Linked DNA regions of Homo sapiens: region 1 is linked to region 2. The links are contacts of gene promoters, found by promoter capture Hi-C in blood cells and fetal thymus (Javierre and others, 2016). All regions are on one chromosome and are shown on one strand. Each heading gives the region's core, a stretch centred on a gene start or on the middle of the fragment in contact. The rest is flanking DNA. Distances are from core to core; before and after follow the strand shown. Region 1 holds the start of CYB5R1 (cytochrome b5 reductase 1). Region 2 overlaps LOC124904486 (a long non-coding RNA gene).

Region 1 (4,112 bases), core at 387-2,886, 300 kb before region 2:
CATACTTTCTTTCTTTCTTTTTTTTTTTTGAGTCAGAGTTTTGCTCTTGCTGCCCAGGCTTGAGTGCAGTGGCGCAATCTTGGCTCACTGCAACCTCCGCCTCCTGGGTTCAAGTGAGTCTCCTGCCTCAGTCTCCTGAGTAGCTCATACTTTCTTCACATCCACAGAGTACATACCATTTCCTGCTGTCAGGCAAATCTTAGAAATTTCTACAAATCCCAGAAAGAATGGGTAAGCAGCCCCTGGGTCCCTTCCTAGCCCCTTACCTTGATGACAAGATCCACATAGCCTTGATCCTCATCACTGGTGACAGGAGTGTATGGCCTGATGACCAGGCTGCCATCAATTCGGGTGGAGAGGTAGATATGTTTGCCTGGGGACCGTGCAGAGAGCTACATAAGGGTTGTCTGTGATGTGCTGCATCCCTCAAAATACTCAAAGAGATTTGAGAGAACAAGATGTCTTGCTTCCTGCTGTGGTCCCAAGGAGCTACAAGGCAGGGAAGATTTGCCCCATTGAGCCCTCAGTTGGATCTCTTATAAGCGCCCAGTTGAGGAAACACTTATTTCCAGCGTTTCCTGCCAGTTACTGCCAGGACCTTGACAGATGAGCCAAAAGGGTCTGGGCAATGGGAAAAAGTTAGTAGTGCTTGCTCAGAGGGAGTAATTAGCAAATCCTGCAGGGAAGAGGCAAGACTGTTGAGTGTTAAAGCTGGATGGGGGTCATGGAAGCCACACTCTAGAGGGGCCCAGTGGCACCTCACAGCTTGGAGGATGCAGAGCCAAGTGGGGGAAGGGGAATGGTGTGTGGAGCAAACCGGTTGAAGCAGCGTGTTTCATGAGATCCCAGGAGGGGAGTCACCTTCTGAGGATACCAGGGAAAGGAGCCCATTCCACACTTTCCTTACCCACAGGCAGCCCCAGAGTGTGGTGGGCGGTGGGCAGGGCAAAGCGGAACCTCTTGGTGTTGTGGCTCACAGTCTGGAGGGTGGAGGACACAAGTGTTTCACCAAGCGCGCCTGGCGCTGCCACGTCCCTTGGACATCCCAACCACCGTGGGTGCTGTACCCTCCATGCCAGGAGCACTCTGGTCCCCTCCTTCACCCTGGCCCTTTCTTCCCCAACTTACCGTCTTGTCTAGCAGTCGTAGCAGGTACTTTTCATTGGGGTCCAGGAGAGTGACCTGAGGCCGGCGGGACCTCCGAACCAAGTAGGAGCCCACAGCCAGGCCGAGCAGAGTGACCAGCCCCACCCCCAGGGAGGCCAGCAGGACGGGGCTCTGTGGGTAGAGGAGGCAGCGTGACCGCCAGGCTGGGTAAGAGCCCGGGGCTTGGGTGGTGACCGTCCCAGGGGTGGCGATCCCGAGCTCCAGCGCGGAGGCATGCCAAGGGCAGAGGGGTAACCTGGCGGAGTCCCGAGCCCGGATGTGCGGGATCGGGACCCCAGCATCCACGGTGGGCCCAGAGCCCTGCGGGGCGGGGTCGGCAGCGACAGCCCCTGGTCCGGAGCTGAGTGGCCAGAACCAGATGGGGAGGGGTCCCCCAGTGGAGGATACTGAATGAGGGTCTTACCGTCTGGATCCCCATGACGGAGCGCCTTTTCCTCCACCACCTGACAAGCCGACAGATCCCACAATGCGCCGCGGGGCGGGTCGGAGGGCGGGGCAGGCCGGGGGCGGGGCCGGGCAGGAGGCAGGACCTCGCGGCTGGGGGGGCAGGAGGCGGGGCCTGGCGGGGGGGGGGGGGGGTGTCTGTCGGGGGCGGGGCCTAGCAGGAGGTGGCGGCGGCGGGGCCTTTTGGGGGCGGGGTCCGGCAGAGGCGGGGCTGGGCCCCTCTGCGCGCCACCCTTTCCCTCCGCTACTCGGTGGCTCAGGGTCTCCGGTGCTTATTCAATACTTTTTTTTTTTTTTTTGAGTCGGAGCCTCGCTCTGTCGCCCAGGCTGGAGTGCAGTGGCGCGATCTCGGTTACTGCAACCTCCGCCTCCCAGTTTCAAGTGGTTCTCCTGGCTCCGCCTCCCGAGTATCTGGGACTACTGGCGTGCGCCACCACGCCCGGCTAATTTTTTTTTTGTATTTTTAGTACAGACTGGGTTTCACCGTGTTGGTCAGGGTGGTCTCGAGCTCCAGGGCTCAAATAATCTACCCGCTTCGGCCTCCCAACGTGTTGGGATTACAGGCGTGAGCCATCGCGCCCGGCCCCAAGATCTTTTAAGACCGCAGCTCCAGCCTCTCCTCCCAGCGAGGTGGTCCCTGCCACTTCGACCCGCTTATATCCGAACTGGATGGGAGTTCTGCCTAAGGTAGAACCACGCTAAATTGGGGGATTGGAAATCTCTTGAGTCTGCGGGTGCTGAGCGGAGAGTGTAACGATGAACCAGAGACAGGCTCAAAGTAGAGCAGAAGGGCCTGAAGTTAATCATTGTGCAGTCACCTTAGTTTTTCAACCGGCTGAATTGCAGCAAGAGAATGGAACAGCCCAGAGGAGTCTCTTACAGGAGTGAACAGTGGCATGGCAACTTCATTTCCTTTTGACAAAAGACTGATTTTGTTTACAGCGCCAAGCCGTCAGCCTATCAGGATGATTCAGGAGCTTCCTTTGGTTTCAAAGACCAAGCTTCACATCCTGATTTGGGTTCTTGTGCCCTTAGGGTCAAAGAAGTGGGCTTTGGAGGCAGAGTGTACAGAATAAGAATCTTGCCTCTAGCACTTATTGGCTCTGTGACCTTAGATAGCTTACTCAACCTGAGTTTCTTCATCTACAGATGGATATAAGATGGATATCTACAGATGGATATATATTATTATCTACAGATAGATTGTATCTAGTTCATAGCTTTGGTGTGAGGCTTCAGTGAGATATGTTAACGTGCTTAGTGTAGTGCCTGTCATAAAGCAAAATATTCAACAGTTGGCAGCTACTATTATAACTTAAAAGACAGCACAGAGGGTCAGCTATGGTTTTAGGAATGAGCTCTGCCTGGGGCACAAGCATGGGACAGGAGGAGGCAGGAAAAAACATCAGGAGCCGCTGGAGCTACAGATTTCCCAAGATGACCATTCTTTCTCATACATGAGTTTCTCAACTAGAATGACATTTGCTCTTTGATATACCGTGATGGATGAGATCTCTGCAGATGTCAGTGTCAACATCTTAAACTAATACCATCAGGGCAGCAGGGACATTAGAGCCCCCAGTTTTCAGTTGTATTTGGTGAACTCTGTGAATGATCCAAGAGATACTTAGTTTTCCTTTTCCTCTCCACTGGCTGAAAATGTTCCTAAGACCCCAGTACATGTTCCTCTGAATTTTTTAAGCAGCCTGCACACTGACTTGAGGGAAGTGAGTGCACCAGATCATGGTGACATGCCAATCCATGCAGAGAGGGTTGAAAAGGGGAAGGAAGGGACCCTTCCTCTTTTCTGTTCCGAGAGAATGAGGCGATTATGTTCCGGTGCTTCTGACATCCCCACTGCTGGCTTGGTTAAGAAGCCACACTACTGATCCTTGCCACTGCTCCACTCTGGCTAAAGAGGTTCTAGGCCTTCCTCCCTCTAGTGGATAGATGTGGCAAGAGAGGGGGAAGTATGGAACGAAAGGAGAGCATAACTACAACTCGGGCTTCTCTCAGTGATTGCATTTTCTGAACCCCAAAGTGGCACATTCTAACAAGTGTGAGTGTATCACTGGGAACCACAGGACAGAATGGTTGGGTGTGGGCTTATCCTGGAAACTAAGTGTTGGACTCAGTAATTGTGGGAAGGCTCTTTTGCTCCTGAAAATGAATGCTGCAGGAGTGGTGGGAAGGGGCTGATGGCCTGGCAGGTCTTCCTGTCTCAGATTCTGTGGTGAATTGAACTCCACTCCACCACGACTCATGGTAATCTTACATTACTCCTAGTTTGGAGGAAAAGATAGGCATTTCTGAATTTTTATTTAACCCAATCTTTTAAGTTTAGGATTTCCTCCTGGGTATACAATAAAGAATAGAACAGGCTGGGTTCACGCCTGTAATCCCATCACTTTGGGAGGCTGGATGGATCACTTGAGCCCAGGAGTTTGAGACCAGCCTGGGCAACATGGCAAAATCCTGTCTTTACAAAAATACAAAAATTA
Region 2 (3,722 bases), core at 142-2,641:
GAGCTGAGGCCATCTGCCCGCCTTGGCCTCCCAAAGTGCTGGGATTACAGGCGTGAGCCACCGCGCCCGGCCTAAATGTCTTAACATCAAGAATAAGGCCATATCGATCAATAAGATACATGCATACTATTTTGCCACCTCTCACTTTTTATTAATAGTATACTCTTTCTTTGCTACCTCCCAGTTTTTGTCAAAGTAAATTGTGATACAAAAACCCCAATTTATAATCATGAAATATTTATTATATTTAATTTTAATAATAATGATTAGTTTCATATTATATTAATTATAATTATTTCGTTCATTTAGTTTTATTGATTTGATTGTTCTTTGCCTTTTCTTTTACATTTTTTCTGTTGAATTATTTATTTTGATTCGTTTCTTAGCTGGCAGGACTATGTCCTCAAGTACTATTTTTCAAAAAGGGCTTATAGAAGAGCTCTCCCATCCTCAGTGGAGTTGGCTAACATCCTGTACCAGTTACCAGTTTATTACTCTCTGGCTCCAAACGTTTCTCCCTTGCCAGCGGGCACAGTGTTAAACTGTGTCAGTAGAGGGCGCTAGAGGACAGAGAGAAGAAGAGACTTCTCTTGCGGTTTCTTTAAGCTTTCCTTCCTACTTGCTTTCGGGACTCTGAACCCCCGGGGTTCTCAGCTCAGTTTCAGGGCACTTCCGCAGGCATCTTCACGGCTAGTTCTGTGGGTGTCCCACTTAGTTTCCCAGTGGCGAGTTCAGCCGCACCGTCTTGGGTGGATTCCTGGTGGAGCCGACTTGACCCAGCCAGTTTCCTGCGAAGTCCCGCATGCGCACTTCCCCGGGGGCAGCTTCCCAGCAAGTTCTGCGTGAGTCCTAGGTGGCTTTGCCATGAGTTCAGCGCATCCCCCAACAGCAACTTCCGGAGGAATTTTGTGGGCACCCCAGCAGGGGGCTTCCAGCCCCTGAGCCGTGGCCTGCCGTTCTCTTCCCCACAATGTTCGCTCTCTTGACTGTGGCCCGGTTCTGTCCAGGGACAACCCAGAGAACTCTTCTGCCCTCAATGGGCTGCAACGCACTTTCTCCAGCAAGGACTGAACCCCAGTCTCGGAGAGCTAGGCTTCTTCACGTTCGTTCTTTCTTTTTGGGTTCTCCCCCACCCCTGCGAGATCATCTAACATTCCTCTTTATTCCCACTGCACCATTAATTTCTATCCTGACTGATTCACAACCCCGAGTTCCGAAGCAAGGGCAAGCTGTGGGGCGCTTCTTGCCGTCTCTACTCAAAACGGAAAAAGCTGGCCAGGCGCGGTGGCTCACGTCTGTAATCCCAGCACTTTGGGAGACTGAGACAGGAGGATCGCTTGAGCCCAGGAGTTCAAGATCAGTCTGGACAACGTAAGGAGACCCTGTCTCTTCAAATATATATATATATATATATATATATATATATACACACACACACACACACATATACATATGTGTATATATACATATATATGTGTGTATATATATACACATATATGTGTGTGTATATATGTATATATGTATATAATTATATATGTATATATGTGTATATATACGTATATAATTATATATACACACATATATGTGTATATATGTAAAATTAGCCAGGCATGGTGGTACGTACCTATGGTCTCAGCTACTCAGGAGGCTGAGGCAGGAGGATCGCCTGAGCCCTGGGGTGTTGAGGCTGTGGTGAGCTGTGATGGTGCCACTGCACTCCAGCCTGGGGCAGGGACTGAGACCCCATCTCAAAAAATAAAAATAAAAAGAATGGAAAGAACCAATGAAATCTTGATGCTATTAACACCTCTGAATATTTCACTGGTTTCTAGAATCCACACAAAACAGGAATCCTACAGAATGATGGCTTGCAGAGGACATTGTAACAGGGCAGTCAAACCAGTTGGAGAAGTGTGCTCTGTCCTATAAAAACGTGCTCCTTCCTGACGTCTACCCCATGTTGGTGGGCCCATGATCTCCTCCTAGACCTCTCAGCTGAAATCAGTCCTGTCCCTGTGTTTGGTGTCCTTCATACCCTCTCGTGGCTGCCTCCCTGCCACGGCCCTGGCTCAGGCCCTGGTCACCTTGCCTAGGGTAGTGGCTTCCCTGGGAATGCCATCTCCACTCAATACTCCTTCTGGTGCTAGAGTGCCCTGCTCAAGGCCTCACCTCCCACGAAGCTTCCTGAACAGCTTAACTCACTGTTTCTTCCTGTTCTGCCCTCTCCTATTATCTGTGCAAATCTGAAGGCACTTTCTGCTCTGTCATGTACCTGATCTTTCCTGCCAGCCTAGACTGCTTTGATGAAAACTGCATCAGATAGCAGAGGAAACACTTATTTGTATGGAAGTGGCGTCCTCTGCTGGTAGAAGTATGTAATGACTGGAACTTTTCCCTAGCTGTGTAAAGGACCCTCACTGCCCAAAGCTGAGACAACCAGTGATACCCAAGGAAACCCAGCTGCCCTTCTCTCTGCCCACCCCAGTCCCTAAGCATGTAAAATTCAATCCACTGACTCACTCACCAGATTTCCACACCTCACTATTACACTAAGATGTTCCTGATGCTCCAGTCTCATGGATAATGGCAATCTTTAACATTAATTGGATATGCACTGTATATGCCAGGCACTGGGCTAATCTCTTCATCTGTATTATATTATTTAACCCTCATAGCAACTTTGTACGGCAGACAAGTGGACCAGATTCCTTAAAAGCAGAGCCTGGGACAGATTTCATGCATATCTTCTTCTGTTGGGGAAGAACCCTCAGAAGAAAGAAAAGGAAGGAGAGTGGGGTGGGGAAGGAGGGAGCCAGGCTGTGGTGTCAGCTGTGGCTGAGCTGCGGCCTGATTTCATGGGGATCCCTGAAGCATGTGCTACACCAGAGTTCATCTTGTCTTGAGGTCGGGGACTGGCCTTTCCTGCCCCTGTGTCAGACAAGCATCGGCTGCAAGCCCCAAGTAAGGCAGCTTCCATTCCCGGGGAAGTCTCTGCAGAGGGAATAACTGTGAACTGTTACCAGCCAAACCTCACAGCAGCCGGTGGGCAGGGATGGAGGGTTGCACCAGACCAGTAAAGGGGATTTGGCTGGGCACTAATAGCAACCATGGTACTGTTATTTCTACTGTACAAATGCAGAATTATAATCTTCCAGGTTTGTAGATACTTTATAGATTTTGAGTGTTTTCATATTCATTACCTCATTCAATGTTACAGTAAGCTTGAGAGGTAGTGATCATGATCCCCACTTTATGAATGAGAGTGAGAAGTGGGAGACTTCCTCAGGATTGTCCAGCCAATAAATACCTTCTCTGTTTATAAATAGCGTCTTCTCAGATACATAGGCAGCTGTATTGGGTCCCAGTCCAACCTCTTCCCTGTGACATTCAGGCTCTGGTCGTTTACCAAGGATCTTACAGCCCTTTTAACTCAAAAGAGCCATGAAGCTGGCAACCTTCCTTGCTGAGACTAGGTACGAGGATACACCTCCTATCAGGTGAGGCCTTACCTTGCCTGCCTGACACTTTGCTGGGCTCAGAATGCTTCTCCAAATTCCCCCATGGAAAGAAGACACCCGGGCACTTCTCACCTGCTCCTGCTTCTGCAGTTCCCTTGGCAGTTTCCTTAGAGGTGTCCCAGCAAGCTAGAGTCTGTCAGAGGACATTGAGGGCCAGGCCAGAGAAGTTTAGAAAGAGTCCCAGGACTACCTGAGCACTGCCTT

What was found. The method cuts DNA at HindIII sites, captures the fragments that hold promoters and counts their contacts. A CHiCAGO score of 5 or more calls a contact.
Region 1: a contact is called between the fragment with the promoter of CYB5R1 here and a fragment that was not itself captured in region 2, in 1 of 17 cell types (fetal thymus). The highest score is 5.4, in fetal thymus.

Annotation. Positions count from the first base shown.
Region 1 is chr1:202,965,621-202,969,732 of GRCh38, forward strand. It overlaps CYB5R1 (cytochrome b5 reductase 1), which reads right to left and starts at 1,637. Exons shown (of 9, transcript NM_016243.3): 1 at 1,571-1,637; 2 at 1,129-1,278; 3 at 908-980; 4 at 267-373. The coding sequence starts at 1,585. RefSeq lists silencers at 1,545-1,594, 1,665-1,824, 2,441-2,735. The HindIII fragment of the contact is 3,400 bases long and covers 1-2,610 here.
Region 2 is chr1:203,266,894-203,270,615 of GRCh38, forward strand. It overlaps LOC124904486 (a long non-coding RNA gene), which reads right to left. Exons shown (of 2, transcript XR_007066798.1): 2 at 221-3,722. Among named protein-coding and RNA genes, the nearest start is that of LINC01353, 18 kb to the right of the region's middle. The HindIII fragment of the contact is 1,574 bases long and covers 605-2,178 here.